Regions from separate parts of the Homo sapiens genome. Here all the other regions are linked to region 1. Evidence: promoter capture Hi-C in human tissues and cell types (Jung and others, 2019). All regions are on one chromosome and are shown on one strand. Each heading gives the region's core, a stretch centred on a gene start or on the middle of the fragment in contact. The rest is flanking DNA. Distances are from core to core; before and after follow the strand shown. Region 1 holds the start of CCKAR (cholecystokinin A receptor). Region 2 overlaps TBC1D19 (TBC1 domain family member 19). Region 3 overlaps TBC1D19 (TBC1 domain family member 19).

The links. The method cuts DNA at HindIII sites, captures the fragments that hold promoters and counts their contacts. A contact is called where the count stands out against the background at its distance.
Region 2: a fragment that was not itself captured here is called in contact with the fragment with the promoter of CCKAR in region 1 in 3 of the 25 tissues and cell types used here (H1 embryonic stem cells, IMR-90 fibroblasts and dorsolateral prefrontal cortex).
Region 3: a fragment that was not itself captured here is called in contact with the fragment with the promoter of CCKAR in region 1 in 2 of the 25 tissues and cell types used here (IMR-90 fibroblasts and thymus).

The regions. Positions count from the first base shown.
Region 1 is chr4:26,487,909-26,493,067 of GRCh38, forward strand. It overlaps CCKAR (cholecystokinin A receptor), which reads right to left and starts at 2,576. Exons shown (of 5, transcript NM_000730.3): 1 at 2,248-2,576; 2 at 1,325-1,576. The coding sequence starts at 2,359. The HindIII fragment of the contact is 14,703 bases long and covers 1-5,159 here.
Region 2 is chr4:26,702,279-26,707,437 of GRCh38, forward strand. The region is part of intron 13 of TBC1D19 (TBC1 domain family member 19); the gene reads left to right. LOC124900179 (small nucleolar RNA SNORD74) reads left to right here and starts at 31; the gene lies at 31-110. The HindIII fragment of the contact is 4,051 bases long and covers 77-4,127 here.
Region 3 is chr4:26,616,807-26,621,965 of GRCh38, forward strand. It overlaps TBC1D19 (TBC1 domain family member 19), which reads left to right. Exons shown (of 21, transcript NM_018317.4): 4 at 3,807-3,882. Among named protein-coding and RNA genes, the nearest start is that of TBC1D19, 35 kb to the left of the region's middle. The HindIII fragment of the contact is 4,224 bases long and covers 490-4,713 here.

The DNA.
Region 1 (5,159 bases), core at 1,326-3,825:
TAAGTTTTGTCTTTTTTTTTTTTTTCAGAGGACTTGGACATGGATTGACACATTCTTGGTTTTTGGTGGCACGAGGGTCAGTAATTCACCATCATTTTGTCAGTGTGGAATCCCACTTCCTCAACTGGGAAAAATGAGGACTTATAAGGCTTTCTGGTCATTGAAGACTGCCCTAGCCTAACTCAGTTCTGCATATTCTGCAAGGCTTGGGTCAGAACAAAAAATAACTCCCTTCTTATTTCCCATCTCTGCCCTTCTCCCAACTAATTCTCAGAAAGGGCAAGGGACTAGGCAATCTGGCACCCAGAGGGGACCAAGAAATGTGTTTTTTTGTTCAACTTTAAGAGAACCACAGCAGTTGGCAAACTGAGGTATCATGCTCACCATTGTGTGGCTACAAATCTGGACTCAAATCTCAGCTCTGTTGCTTACCATCTGTGTGGTTCTAGGCACATTATGGACCTCTCTGTGCCTCTGTTTCCTCCTTAGGGAGACAAGGAAGAATCATTGCATTTACTTCATAGAGTGGTTGGGAGATAAGGTAAGATCATGGAAGGCAAAGCACTTAGTACCACATGGGGTGCATAAAAGCGCTAAAAAAATTTAGCTCTTATGATTTTCATTATCATCATTTTTGTTTGGCATAGGCAAAGAGCTATATATCTCAGCCAATCAGGGTCAGCTTAGCGACCCCATAGCCCCCAGGAGCAAATTCAACTCCTCATCTAGGGGCAGAGACCTCTCTCTCTCTCTCTTTCTGCCAGAGATGGCCCCAGCTTTGGGGAGAACAGGCTGGGAAGTGAATCCTGAGAAGAGAATCTGAAACTGCGATAGAACTGGTTTTCAAATAGCCCCTGTTCCCTAAGAAAACAAAAGAAACAACTGCAAAGAACCCTCCTCCATCATCCTCACCCTCCCTAGAAGCCAGGACTCAAGTTGTGTATAGATCAGGACACAGTCAACAGCTTCCAGAAAGGGATAGAGCAGCTTAAAGTCACTTCTGACTTCAAACAGAAGCAAGCAAGTCCCTCTTCCCTTCAAATAGAAGCAAGCAAAATCAACTGCCCCTGTGTTTTCCTATCAATTTATTTCACTCTTAGAAACTGACCTCCAACATGGATGATGGGGACCGACTTGTGGGGAACGTATAAGGATGACTGTCAAGCCAGCACCAATGTCCGTGCACACAGCCATGCACAGCCTGATGTTCTGTGATTCAGCCCTCAGCAGGGCTCCTTTGCTGTGATTGTCAGAGGTTTGGGAAGGTCTGGGGCTGAGTGGGGTCTGGGGCAAGCTCCAGAAAGAGTCACCAGCAGCAACTTACCCATGAAGTAGGTGGTGGTCTTGCAAACGGCGCTCCCGAAGATGAAATCCTTGAGCAGATTGGGGATGAGGTTGAACGGCATGCAGAAGAGACAGAGCATGAGGTCGCTGACAGCCAGGGAGAGGAGGAAGATGTTGGTGACCGTCCGCATCCGCTTGTTCCGAATCAGCACGGTGATGACCAGCGTGTTTCCCAGCACGCTGAGCAGGAATATCAAGGAGTACAAGAGAATCTGCACCGCTGGCTGCCACTCTGCAGAGAGAAACAGGAGCAAGACGGAGGGATGGAGGTGATGACAGCAGAATGCTAAAACCGAAGCCAAGGGTGAATTCCTGCCGATTTTCCCCCCACCGGGGTGTACATCACTGGACCCACGATTCCTGTCCTGGCAACATTTTGCGGAAACAAATTGAGGAAAGCAGAGACTGAATTATTTTCTTTTTAGAAGGTTGGTTTGTTAAAGGATCACTCAGGGAACCACTTTTTCTTAAGAACAAAGCTCCTCAAGTGAACAGTGATCACTTTCTTTCCTGGCTGCTAAGCATTATTTCACTTTAATCACTTCATGCTGGGTTTCCCCCCAAGAAAAGAAAACAGCTGCATGGTGACAACACCTTTTCTGCTGTGCTTGTAAGTTCAGGCTTTGACACTTGTAGTCCCTCTTGCTTCACTCAGCTTTTCCTCCCCTGCTTTTGTTCCCCCAAGTCCTATTCATGAATGCCCAACTCCCCCATGGGGGACAATAAGAATATTTGACTCTATTCTGCTTTTTAATCTCTTCTCCAAACTTCTGAACATATGACTTTATCTAGCCTTGTCTCACAATGACTTGGTTATATATATTTTTTATCAGCCTTGCCTTTGCTGATTTCTCCCACAACTCAATAGTTTCCTGAATTAAAATAACAGCTTCCGACACTTACCTTTGGAAGGACGGGGCTGATCCAAGCAGAAAAGCGTCTCATTTTCGAGCCCGAGTTCACAGGGAGGAGTGATGTTGCTTCCATTCACAAGAAGGCTGTCAACCACATCCATCCTTGCCTGCTGCTTTCCACCAAGTGCTGGAGAGCTGGTGAATTGCTCACTCCCGGCTCATTCCTCTAATGACCGAAGCGTCTCGCAGATGCAACCTGCCGTGGAGGAGCAGGGAGGGAGTGATTTCCAGGTGTGGGCTTTTTCAGCCATTCCTAAAGGCGACTTGAGTTCACCTCACTCACTCCAGCATTTGTACTCCTGTTGTGGAAAAGGCAGTGAGCACAAGCCAAGCCCGCTCCACCTTCACCCCGCCCCACCTCCCCCGGCCCTTTCCTGGGCCAGTCTTAGGGCCCTGAGTACAGACAGCCTGGCTACCCGTTAACCATTCTCAGCGTGTGGCTGCTTTTTACACACATGTGTACATATGCACGGACACACACACACACACAGAGGCTTCCCCAGTACTCCTCTATATAGGAACCCGTCACCATCCCAGACATATGCAGAAGAAAGCCCAAACCGGCTGTGTGAGACAGGAACAATTAACACGGTAACAGATCCGATAATGCAGACCATCAGGCCTAAAGAACACGGAGGGACTGTGTTCTACCTCCTTATAGAAAAGCAATTAGTGCCTTTTTAGCTTTGGAACCATGCCCGGTGGTGTGTGTGTGGACAGAACTGCTGGCTGGTTGTTAAGTTGCTACTAAACACAGTGTTGTTTCTCGTGGTCTCTGCCCTTGTTAACTAGGATTGAGGCACTTTTGAACATAGGTACCTGGGTCCTTATTACAAAAGACGTTAGTGAGATTTCCTCTTCATTCATGAAGCCTTGCATTCAGCACATCTTCATTGAGAGTCAATCATTTGCCAGGCACTTTTCTAGCATGTCAGCAAATAATGAGCAGAATTATTTCAGGTAGTAAGTACTACAAAGGGAGTAAAGCAGGGAGATGTGATGTATACAAACAGATTAGGGGCTGATTTTTTGGGGGGCGGGGACAGGGTCTTGCTCTGTTCCCCAGGCTGCAGTGGAGTGGCGCGATCATGGCTCACTGCAGCCTTGCTCCCTGGCTCAAGCAATCCTCCTACCTTAGCCTCCTGAGTAGCTGGGACTACAGGCACACACCACTAAGCCCAGCTGATTTTTTTAGTTTTAGAAGAGAGGAGGTCTCGCTATGTTGCCCAGGCTGGTCTCAAGCTCCTGAGCTCAAGCAATCCTCCTGCCTTGGCCTCCCAGTGTTGGCATTACAGGCGTGAGCCACTGCACCTGGCCTGGGGCTGCTGATTTAGAAGGGGTAGTCAGGAGAGGTCTCTTAAGGAGGGGACTGTGATCTGAGACTGAACCACAAGAAGGACAAAGTCTTGTGAAGATCCCAAGACAGCTTCTCCCAGGCAAAAGGAGGAGCACTTTTAGCAGAGGTAACAGCAAGTGCAAAGGCCCTGAGGTGGGAATGAGTGTGGCCCCATTGAGGTACAAATAGATAGAAGTAGGAGTGAGTGAGAGGCAAACAGCAGGACGTGAGATCAGAGAGGGGGGCCATCTCAGGGTCCTGGGTGTTCCATGAAGCTCTGTGGTGCTGGAAAGCCCTTCAACCTCCATTGCACAGATTATGTCCTCAGTTCAGACCCTTTGGAAAGCAGACGACAATGGCTGTGAAACCTGCGTTTCTGACGCCCTGCTTGGCTGTGCTGAGACTTGGTCCATTTGCTAGATACCCGTGGGGCTCCTTGTGTACTGACAATGCTTCCACTGGCAGAGCTGCATGCTACATCTTGCTGAGTCTCTGCCAGACACAGAGGAACTAACGCATTTTTACTGTCAGTGTGGGGCTGGAAAGACAGTGGTGCCTCTTTTCTTTGAAACCATGAAGACCACATGGTTTGGGGCATTTAGTCACAGAAACAAGAAGGGGAAGGGACACTGGAGAAGCTGTGGATGTTATTGGGAGGACAGGCTTTGGCATCAGACAGACTTGGGATCAAATCCTGGCTTCACTGGTTACCTGCTAGGAAATACTGGGCAAATTAGTTTCCTTCCTTCCTTCCTTCCTTCCTTCCTTCCTTCCTTCCTTCCTTCCTTCCTTCCTTCCTTTCCTTTCCTTTCTTCCCTCCCTTCCTCCTTTCTTTCTCTCTCTCTTTCTTTCCTTTCTTCCCTCCCTCCCTCCTTTCTTTTTCTCTTTCTTTCTTTCTCTCTTTCTTTCTTTCTTTCTTTCCCTTCCTTCCTTCCTTCCTTTCCTTTCTTCCCTCCCTTCCTCCTTTCTTTCTCTCTCTCTTTCTTTCCTTTCTTCCCTCCCTCCCTCCTTTCTTTTTCTTTCTTTCTCTCTTTCTTTCTTTCTTTTCCTTCCTTCCTTCCTTCCTTCCTTCCTTCCTTCCTTCCTTCCTTCCTTCCTTTCCTTTCTTCCCTCCCTTCCTCCTTTCTTTCTCTCTCTCTTTCTTTCCTTTCTTCCCTCCCTCCCTCCTTTCTTTTTCTCTTTCTTTCTTTCTCTCTTTCTTTCTTTCTTTCTTTTCCTTCCTTCCTTCCTTTCCTTTCTTCCCTCCCTTCCTCCTTTCTTTCTCTCTCTCTTTCTTTCCTTTCTTCCCTCCATCCCTCCTTTCTTTTTCTCTTTCTTTCTTTCTTTCTCTCTTTCTTTCTTTCTTTCTTTTCCTTCCTTCCTTCCATCCATCCTTCCTTCCTTCCTTCCTTCTTTCTTCTTTCTTTCTTTTTTTTTTTTTTTCTGAGACGAAGTCTTGCTCTGTTGCCCAGGCTGGAGTGCAGTGGCATGAGCTAGGGTCACTGCAAACTCCACCTCCCAATCGCAAGCAATTGTCGTGCCTCAGCCTCCCAAGTAGCTGGAATTACAGGTATGCACCACCAGAA
Region 2 (5,159 bases), core at 852-3,351, 210 kb after region 1:
AAAAGCAGAATGAGCATCAGTAAATATTTATTGATCTACCTCTGATGAAACCTGTGTTGGTGGGGACATCTGAGAGTGTTGATGAATGCCAGTGACTCTGATAGAAAAAAAATACTGATTCTTATACTATGTGTAAACGATACCACCTTTGATGGGCTTACATTCTAGTTAAGGGGGCAGGACACAAACATACAAAATATTCTGAAATTGTTTTAAAGTGTTTATATAAAGCATTAGGTGCTAAGTCAGTATCACAAACAGTAAGTACTATAGGAGTATGCTTTAACCTTTATTTTCCATTTCTATTAATATTTTAGTCCAAATTGTATTGTTTTTAGATTTTACATAATTTTTTCAGTCATAGGTCTCATGACTTCTCCTGCTTTTAGTACTTTGGAAATGACTAAATAAGCCTGTTTTAAATGCTGTAGTAAGAACACTTATCACAAGGTCTATCCTCTTAATACCTTTTTAAGTGTACAGTATAGTAGTATTAACTATAGGCACAGTGCTGTACAGCAGATCTTTAGAATTCAGTCATCTCCCATGACAGAAACATTATACCAATTGAATAGCAGCTCCATATTCCCCCTGCCCCCGGGCCCAGCAGTCACCATTCAACTGCTGCTATATGTTTGACTGTTTTAGATACCTCATGTAGTAGAATCATGTAATATTTGTTCTTCTGTGACTGCCTTATTTCATTTCATATAATGTCCTCCAGGATCATGTGGCCTCATGTAACTCATTTTCTTCTCTATAATGACTGAATAATATTCCATTGTATTGTATATACTACATTTTCTTTATCCTTTCATCTGTCTAAATAAGCTTTAATGTGGATCTCTATCCCCATAACATAAATAGATGGATAATTACAACATCTAAGCATCTCTCTTTGGGAATTATGTAAAAATAAATTTTCCTTATATGGATAATTACTAAGAAAACACTTTCATGGTGATACTTTTTAATTATTCATTTTACAATTAGTCTGAATTATTAGAAATTTATTTTAACTAATAAAAACGTATGTAATTGTATGCATTGTAAATATTCTGTTTTCAGAAATTGAGTTCTGTTTTTTCCTTTCAGAAAAAATTGTGTGTGTGCATGTGTGTGTGTGTGCATGTGTGTAATAAGACAGAAGAAAGCCTGTTCTTGTCATTAATTACAGGCATTCCTTTAGCAGAGCTGCCTAGCAACACAGTTGCTGTATAGGAAAATTGTCAATGTATAGCAAATTTAATATTCCTGGCCATGTTCTTGGTCATAGCCGATTTATTGGATTTTGTGACTACACTGCAAAATTAGATGTCATGTGGCATTGCTGTGTTTACATACAGATGAGAAAATATCCAGTAATCCTTCTTTAAAGAAAATCTGGGCCTATGTCCGGGCACGGTGGCTCATGCCTGTAATCCCAGCACTTTGGGAGGCCAAGGCGGGTGGATCACGAGGTCAGGAGATCGAGACCATCCTGGCTAACATGGTGAAACCCCATCTCTACTAAAAATACAAAAAAAAAAAAAATTAGCTGGGCGTGGTGGCGGGCGCCTGTAGTCCCAGCTACTCGGGAGGCTGAGGCAGGAGAATGGCGTGAACCAGGGAGGTGGAGTTTGCAGTGAGCCAAGATCGTGCCACTGCAATTCGGCCTGGGCAAAAGAGTGAGACTCCGTCTCAAAAAAAAAAAAAAAAGAAAAAAGAAAATCTGGGCCTATGTTACAAGGATACGCAGGCACTTGTTCCTGAGTACCTCATGTTAATGTTCCTAAATTTTACAGGCAACAATGCTGAATATTATAGAAATAATGTTTTTAGTAATAAGCCAATCCTTTAGTATTCCAGTGTTAAGTTAGTTTTTATTTTGCATGAAATTCTTAAAGTACCCATTTTTAAGTGTTGTAAGTTTTAAATTATGTCAGTTTCAAAATGTATTCAAACAGAAGACAACTCTTATTTAATGGAAGTAAACTGAGTAGTTTGACAGTACCATTTTCAGACTTCAATACTGAGTGGAATTTTCACAAACTACGTAAGTTAACATATTGTCCAAAGTATATAAGATATTCATAGGAAAGAATTCATATATAGTAAAAGGGAAGACATGGAGATTTACTCTTTCTGTTGTATGACGAATCTTCCATCATATGCTTGGTTTATCTGGCATATACTTAGTAGTAGTCCTGAGATACTGAAGTGTGACATAGTTATAGATATTTTAACGCTATTGAATGGAGTTAAAAAGGTCCAAATGTGTCAGATATTCTTTGTTCATGTATCTAGTTAGATTATTTGGTGTATGTTCTGATATAGGCACTGTGTTAGGTGCTAGCAAAAGAAGATATTTATTAAGCTCACAACTTAGTGAAAAATGAAGAGAAAGACAAATTCATAGTTATAATTTGATAAATCCCCCAATAGAAATATATATAAATTCTATGCAAATATAGATAAAGGGAAAATAAATTCTGGGAGTAGTGCAGAACTTAGTGATGGCTTCAGAATAGAAATATAATATTATAAGAAATGAATTTTATTTCAACTTTTTGAGGAAGTGTCATACTGTTTTCCACAGTGACTATACCATTTTATATTCCAACAATAGTGTACAAAGTTTCCAGTTACTCCACATCATCGCCAACATGTTACTTTCTCTTTTTTTGATAGTAGCCATCCTAATGGGTATGAAATGATGTTATCTTATTATAGTTTTCATTTGCATTTCCCTAATGATTAATGATATTGAGCATCTTTTCTTGTGCTCATTAACCATTTATATATCTACTCAGGAAAAAAATGTCTATTGAAGTCCTTTGGCCATTTTTGGATCAACTTGTTTTTTTTTGTTGTTGTTGTTGTTATTGTTGAGTCTTAAGAGATCTGTAAATATTCTGGTTATTAATGTCTTACTGAAAATGTGATTTGTAAATATTTTCTCCCATTTGTGAGTTGACTTTTTACTCTGTTGATAGTGTCTTTTGATGCACAAAATTTTAAAATTTTCATGAAGTCCAGTTTGCCTAATTTTTGTTGTTATCATCTGTGCCTTTGGTATTGTATCCAAGAGATCACCAAATCCAATGTTGTGAAGATTTTGCACTATGTTTTCTTCTATGAGTTTTATAGTTTTAGAACTTGCATTCAGGTCTTTAATCCATTTTGACTTAATTTTTGGATATGGTGTTAGATAAAGGCCCAGCTTCATTCTTTTGCATATAGATATCCAGTTTTCCTAGCACCATTTGTTGGAAGACTGCACTTTCTCCCATTGAATGGTAATGGGAGAAAGGACAAGCACAAACCCTTGTTGTAAATCATTTGACCGTATATTCAAGGTTTTATTTCTAGTTCTGTTCTATTCTGTTTGTCTGTACATCTGTCTTTATGCCAATAGCACACTGTTTTGATTATTATAGCTTTCTAGGAAGTTTTTAAATCTGGAAGAAATAGGAATCTTCCAGATATGTTCTTCTTTTTTCAACATTGTTTTGGCTATTTGGGGTTTCTCGTAGGGTCTTTGGTGTTGGTATCAAGGTAATACTGGCCTCACAGAATGAATTAAGAAGTGTTTTCTATTTTTTAATTGTGTGGGAAAGTTTTTGTTTTGTTTTGTTTTGTTTGTTTGTTTGTTTGAAAGACAGGATCTCCCTATGTTGCCCAGGCTGGAGTACAGTGACTGTTCACAGGCTTGATCATAGCACATGCACTGTACCCTTGGACTCCTGGCCTCAAGCAATTCTCTTGCCTCAACTCTCTGAGTATCTGGGACTATAGTTGCACATCACCATGCCCAGATCAATTTTTTGAAAAGTTTGAGAAACATTGGTGTTAGCTCTTCTTTAAATGTTTAGTAGAATTAACCAGTGAAGCCATCAGGACCAAGGCTTTTCTTTGTCAGAGTTTTGATTATTGATGAATATTTTTACTAGTTACAGGTCTGTTCAGATTTTCTATTTCTTTGTGATTTAGTCTTGGTTGACTTTGTGTTTCTAGAAATTTGTTCATTTTATCCAGGTTATCCAATTTGTTGGTGTACAATTGGTCATAGTACTCTCTTATAATCCTTTTTATTTCTTTAGAGTCAGTGGTAATATTCGCAGTTTCATTTCTTATTTTAATAATTTGAGTCTTCTCTCTTTTTTCTTAGTCCTTCTAGCTCAAGGTTTGTTAATTTTGTTGAACTTTTTGAAAAGCCAACTTTGGTTTCAGTTATTATCTCTATTGTTTTCCTATTCTCCATTTCATTTATCTCTGCTCTACTTTTTATTATTTTATTTTCTTTCTTCTGCTAGCTTCTAGCCTAGTTTGCCCATTTTTTCCAGTTCCTGAAGTTGCAAAGTTGGCTGTTGATTTGAAACCTTTCTTGTTTTTTAATCTAAGCCTCTATAGCTATAAATTTGCCACTTAACATCACTCTCACTGAATCCCGTAAGTTTTGATATGTCATGGTTTTGCCATTTGTCTCTAAGTATTTCTAATTTCTCTTATAATTTCTTCTTTAATCCATTGGCTGTTTAAGACTGTGTTGTTTAATTTCCATAGATTTGTAAATTTTCCAGTTTTCCTTCTGTGACTGATTTCTACCTCCATCTCTGTGGTCAGAGAAGCTACTTTGTATCATCTCTGTTTTTTAAAAATCTATTGAAACTTAATTAGTGACCTAATATATGATCTATCTGGAAAATGTCCCATGTGCATTTACATGGAATGTGTATGCTGTAGTTCTTGGGTAAAGTGTTCAGTATATTGTTAGATCTAGTTGGTTTATCATGTAAATACTCTAGTTGGTTTATCATGTAAATACTTCATTTCCTTATTTCCTGTCTAGTGGTTCTATCCATCATTGAGAATAGGATATTGAAGTCCACTGTTACACTAGAATTGTCTATATCTCCTTTCATTTTTTGTTAGTTTTTGCTTCATACATTTTCAAGTCTGTTGTAGGTACATAAATGTTTATAGCTGTTGTATCTTCTTGCTGTATTGAAACTTTTGTTAATATATAATGTCTTTCTGTCTCCCATAACCTCTTTTATTTAAAGTCTATTTTGTGTGATATAAGTACAGTCACCTTGCTCTCTTTTGGTTACTATTTGCATGGAGGGTCTTTTTCTGTCCTTTAACTTTTAATATATTTATGTCTTTAGATCTAAAAT
Region 3 (5,159 bases), core at 1,352-3,851, 130 kb after region 1:
GCATACTTTAATTATCTTTTCCATTCATTTAAAACAATTAGTTATATATTATTGTGTTAATAGCTATTTAGTATTAATGATAATTTACAGTGATTGAATGCTTATTTTATGCCAACACTTTATATGCATTGGCTTATTCCATATAATCTTCATTACAACCCTATGAAGTAAAATTTATTATGATCACCATTTTACAGAAGAGAAAACTGAGGCTTAAACCATGTTTTAGTTTGTCTGGTGATGCTATAACAGAATACCTGAGATTGGGTAATTTATAATGGACAGAAATTTATTGGCTCACAGTTCTGGAGGCTGGGAAGTCCAATATCAAGGTGCCAGCATCTGGTGAGAGCCTTCTTGCTGCATTATCCCATGGCAGAAGGTGAGAGGGCAAGAGGGGGTTTAACCCACCCTTTTATAATGGCACCAATCCCACCCACGTAGGTGAAGCTCTTATGGCCTAATCACTTCTGAAAGATCCCACCTCTTAATACTGTTACAATTGCAAATTTTAACATGAGTTTTGGAAAGGACAAACATTCAAACCATGGCAGAAACTTAAGTAACTTGTTGAAGATCATATAGCTAGCAAATGGCAGTGCTAGGCCTTAACCTCCAGCTATATAATTCCAAAGCCCATACATTTTACTATGTCTCACATAGGTATATGTCTTATCTCTTGACTGGATTAAAAATGTTCTGGAACAAAAATTGTGTCTTACATTTCTTTCATATTTCCTATAGCATCAAATAAATGACATTGAGTCAGCAAATAGTTATTGAGCCACCTACCAATGCTAACACATGACAAATATTTGTTGAGTTGAGGAGACAGTGCAATTATTAGTCTTAGCCTTACTGTATTTAAGACAATCTTTACATGCAAAATGAAAATAGATCAATTTATTTCTGTGTGTTAGTCTTCATTGTACTTTGTACAGAGCAGTTTATAAGAAATTAGATGACCTATTCTTTTTCCCTCAAGGAACATAAAGAAGTAAATAAACCTTAACAATCTTATTCTATATGTGCATGTTATAAAAACATATAGCATAGTTTGCTGTTATAGTAGATATATGCAAATGTCTACCATACCTTAGAGAGTTACAAGTGTCAAACAGTAGTGGGTCTAAAATGGAAGGATGTTAGATAATGGATACCTTACACTAGACCACAGATTTGGGTAAGTCTTCGTACACATTCATGGCTTTCGCTGGGAGAGTGCTCAAGCAGTAGACCTGGGTACCTCTGAAACGTCCTAAACATACAGTTCTTCTTTGCCCTCTTAGTTTGAAATGCTACTGTATGTTTGCTATTGTGCACAGAGCCAGGTGCTGTTGTTAATGAACAGGCTAGACAGTCTTTGCCTCCTGGAACTTACATCCCAGTTGGGCATACAGACTTTAAAGAGGCAATTACAGTACAGTAAAATAAGTGCAATGATTAGGGAAATACAAGGAACACGTAAGGCCGGCATTTAACTTAGATTTGGGGATGTCATGGTGGCTTACCAAAGGAAGCAATATCCAGGCTGAGATCAGAAAGCTAAGCTAGAGTTTCTCAGGGGAAAGAGTAGAGAAGAAAAGCACTTCAGGCAGAAGGGAATAGCAGGCTCAGAGATTTAGAAATGGAAAAGAGTGTGGTGCAAACATGGTACAAAAGTTTGTATGGCTGAATGGTAGCAGGTGAAGGGATCATGGCTAAGGACGATTCTAGATTTATAAACAGGATTGTGCCTCTTAAGACTTTGTAGACTGGATCCTAAAAGCATTTGGGTGCCATTTAAAAATTGTAAGTAAAATAGTAACATGATCAAATTTGCATTTTATTCATTCAGCAATATATTGGTTATCTACTGTGTACCAGGCATTTTGCTCAATGCTGGAGTTACAATTACTGGTGAATAAGGAAGACATCACTTCTGGCCAACATCCAGGCAAATTGGTGAATAGGTTGAAAACAGTCTGGAAGCGCTTAGGAACCTGCTGGATAAATGTAGGCAAGGAATAATGGTTGCCTAAAATAGTTTACTGTCAGTGGGTAGAACATCTTAGGTTATTTAGGGAGACTTGGGGGACAAGAAAAAATAGAGTCAAGTGTGCTGTATAAGTTTCTGTGCATTTTTCCTATCTGGCAACTCTTATCTCTGCATATTACTAAATGTAAGCTCCATGAGGGCAGGTATTTTAGCTAGTTTTGTTCACTTCTGTATCTCTTTTATATTGAGTAGGTTGTCATTAAATATTTCTGAAAAAATAAATATCTAACTTGATTTTGGTCTTAATATGAATGACTTTCAAGTTGTCTCCTCTTGTTACCTGTATTTTGGATATGTTTCTTTGATCATTAAATAACTATTAAGATCATCAGTAAAGTCTCTCAAATTTTAATCCTAAATTTCTTTTTTTTTTTTTTTGAGACGGAATCTTGCTCTGTTGCCCAGGCTGGAGTGCAGTTGTGCAATCTCGGCTCACTGCAAGCTCTGCCTCCCAGGTTCACGCCATTCTCCTGCCTCAGCCTCCCCAGTAGCTGGGACTATAGGCATGTGCCACCACGGCTGGCTAATTTTTTTGTATTTTTAGTAGAGACGGGGTTTCACCATGTTAGCCAGGATGGTCTCGAGCTCCTGACCTCGTGATCCACCCACCTCGGCCTCCCAAAGTGCTGGGATTGCAGGCATAAGCCACCACGTTTGGCCTTAATCCTAAATTTCTAAGCTTTATTAAATTTTACATAATTACCATTAAAAGTGGAAGCAAATGGTATATTGGACAATGTGAGATAGTTTTTAAACTGTCTTACATATAAGACAAGAAATATCAAGGTATCTAGAGACTTAAATTTTTTTTCATTTGTGAATGCGAAAGATACATGAAATGTAGATTTTAGTAGAAAAATAATTTGCCAGAAATAATCAATTTGTGAAGCTGTCTTATAGATTAGGTTGGATAGGTTGCCTTTCTCTATTCCAGCAATGTTTCTATGGACAGTTTAGCCTTTTACATGTAGGCTCCAGGACAGATGCAAGTGGTTTTGAAAATTATTAACCTTTTACATGTTTTTGTCCCACTTTGGACCAGGAATTTATTGAGAATTCAGTCTATGGTTCCTGATTATTGGAACATGACTGTTTTGCTGTAGGTACAAGTCTGATGACTAATTTCAAGAGGAGTTATATATTGTTGTGAAATGGATTGGAATCTCCAAATAAACATTGAACCATCATGTCTTCCTACTGCCTTTTCTATCTGTGATTTCATACCACTCTGCACTTCAGTCATTATGTTCCAGTGGCCCTGACTTTTTCTGATCCTTAAACATTTCAAGCATTACCTCCTCAGAATTCTTGTGCTTGCCATCCCTTTGCCTGGAATATTCTTCCCCCAGATCTTTGCATGGTTGGCTCCTTCACACTCATGTCTTGGTTTAAATATAAAATCCCCAAGAGGACTTCACTGACCTCCAAATTTATTGTGTCTTATTACCCTGCTTTCATTTTCTCACGGCACTTACTGCAATCTGATATTATTTTATTTGTATGTGTTTGTGATTATTGGCTTTCTTCACGAGAATGTTACGTCCATGAGAACAGAGAATGTTATCTCAATCACCACCTTATACTTAGTACCTAGAATGGCCCAAGTATTTGTTGACTACATCAATCTATTTTCTTAATAAAAACAGTACATTTTGAATATAAAATGAAATGTTACTGGGAAAACAGTTTATAACATGGACTACAGAGGTAAGTAATATCTAACCAAGAGAATAATGTGTGATATTTAGCTGCCTCTTTTTGCTCCTAGGTTTCCTTTACCTAGTCATCCTGCTGCACCTCCTGAACATCTTAAAGAACCTTTGGTATACATGAGGAAAGCACAGGTTGGCTATTGTTCAATTTCATTTTATTTTTTCATGCCAAGTTATGTAATACAGAGCAAAAGATCATTACTGATGTCAGGAGTATGTATTATTAATTATGAAATACTGGGTAAGAACCACTAAATTTATGTTAATAGTATTTGTATATTCTCCCATTTTATATTCAGTAACCAAGGATCATACCTATTTAACTATGGCAACCCTGGAAAAAATGGGGTAGAAGGGGAAAAATCATCTACTATACTGGCCTGCAATTTAAAATATGGTACAAGTGTAATGTGGCAATCTATTCTTCATGGCCTGTGATATTAAAGGAATGAAATGTGAATGAACTGACACCCTCTTTCCTTAAAATTTTGGCCTTTGAAGCCAGTGTTATTGAAAGTGTATTTAAAATATATTTGTTCTCGCAGTAGGCTGTCACCTATTAATTGTATGCTATTGTAGAACTCTGATAAACCTGCTATCAAAATGGGTTGGCAAAAAACTAAGAATAAAATGACAAAATAAAATAATTTAAGTATAAAAACTATGAATAGTTGTTAAAATGGAAGCTCAAGAAGTTCTAGCACATGCCCCTAGCTCTTTTAACTGTCCTTCATCTCAGCACAGCCTCACTCACCTCCCCTCAGTCCAGTCCTGTCCGTAAGCCTTCCTCACAGTGCTGGTTGAGTAGGACTCTGTGACTGCCACTGCTGAGGCACGTAATGAGCACCACAGTCAGTCGACCTTCATTCTTCAGCATAGCCTCAGAGATGGATTTTTAAAACCTTTTTTGGTATGGAATATTTCAAAGGTACCTCAAAGAACTCCCATGAACCCATCACTCAGCTTCCACAGTTATCATCATGGTTCTTCTGCTCTTGAAAATTTTCTGCAGAGTCATCACATTCCACAACAGTGGAAATTAGGCACTTTTTTCGACTTTTATTTTTATTTAAAAAAATCATCAAAAAATTAGATGGTGAAAAGAAGCAATATAAATAAAAACCTTGGAGATATTTGAGGAAGTATATATTTCTATCTCTAGGTGGTATCTTTTAGGGCTGGAAATCAGTTAATGTTTATTTATCAATTTGTCATAAAGCATAATAAATAATACATATATGAAAGAATTGTGGGTTTTTTTTTGTTATAAAGATTTGGAACCAACCCAATTGTCCAACAACGATAGACTGGATTAAGAAATTGTGGCACATATACACCATGGAATACTATGCAGCCATAAAAAATGATGAGTTCATGTCCTTTGTAGGGACATGGATGAAACTGGAAAC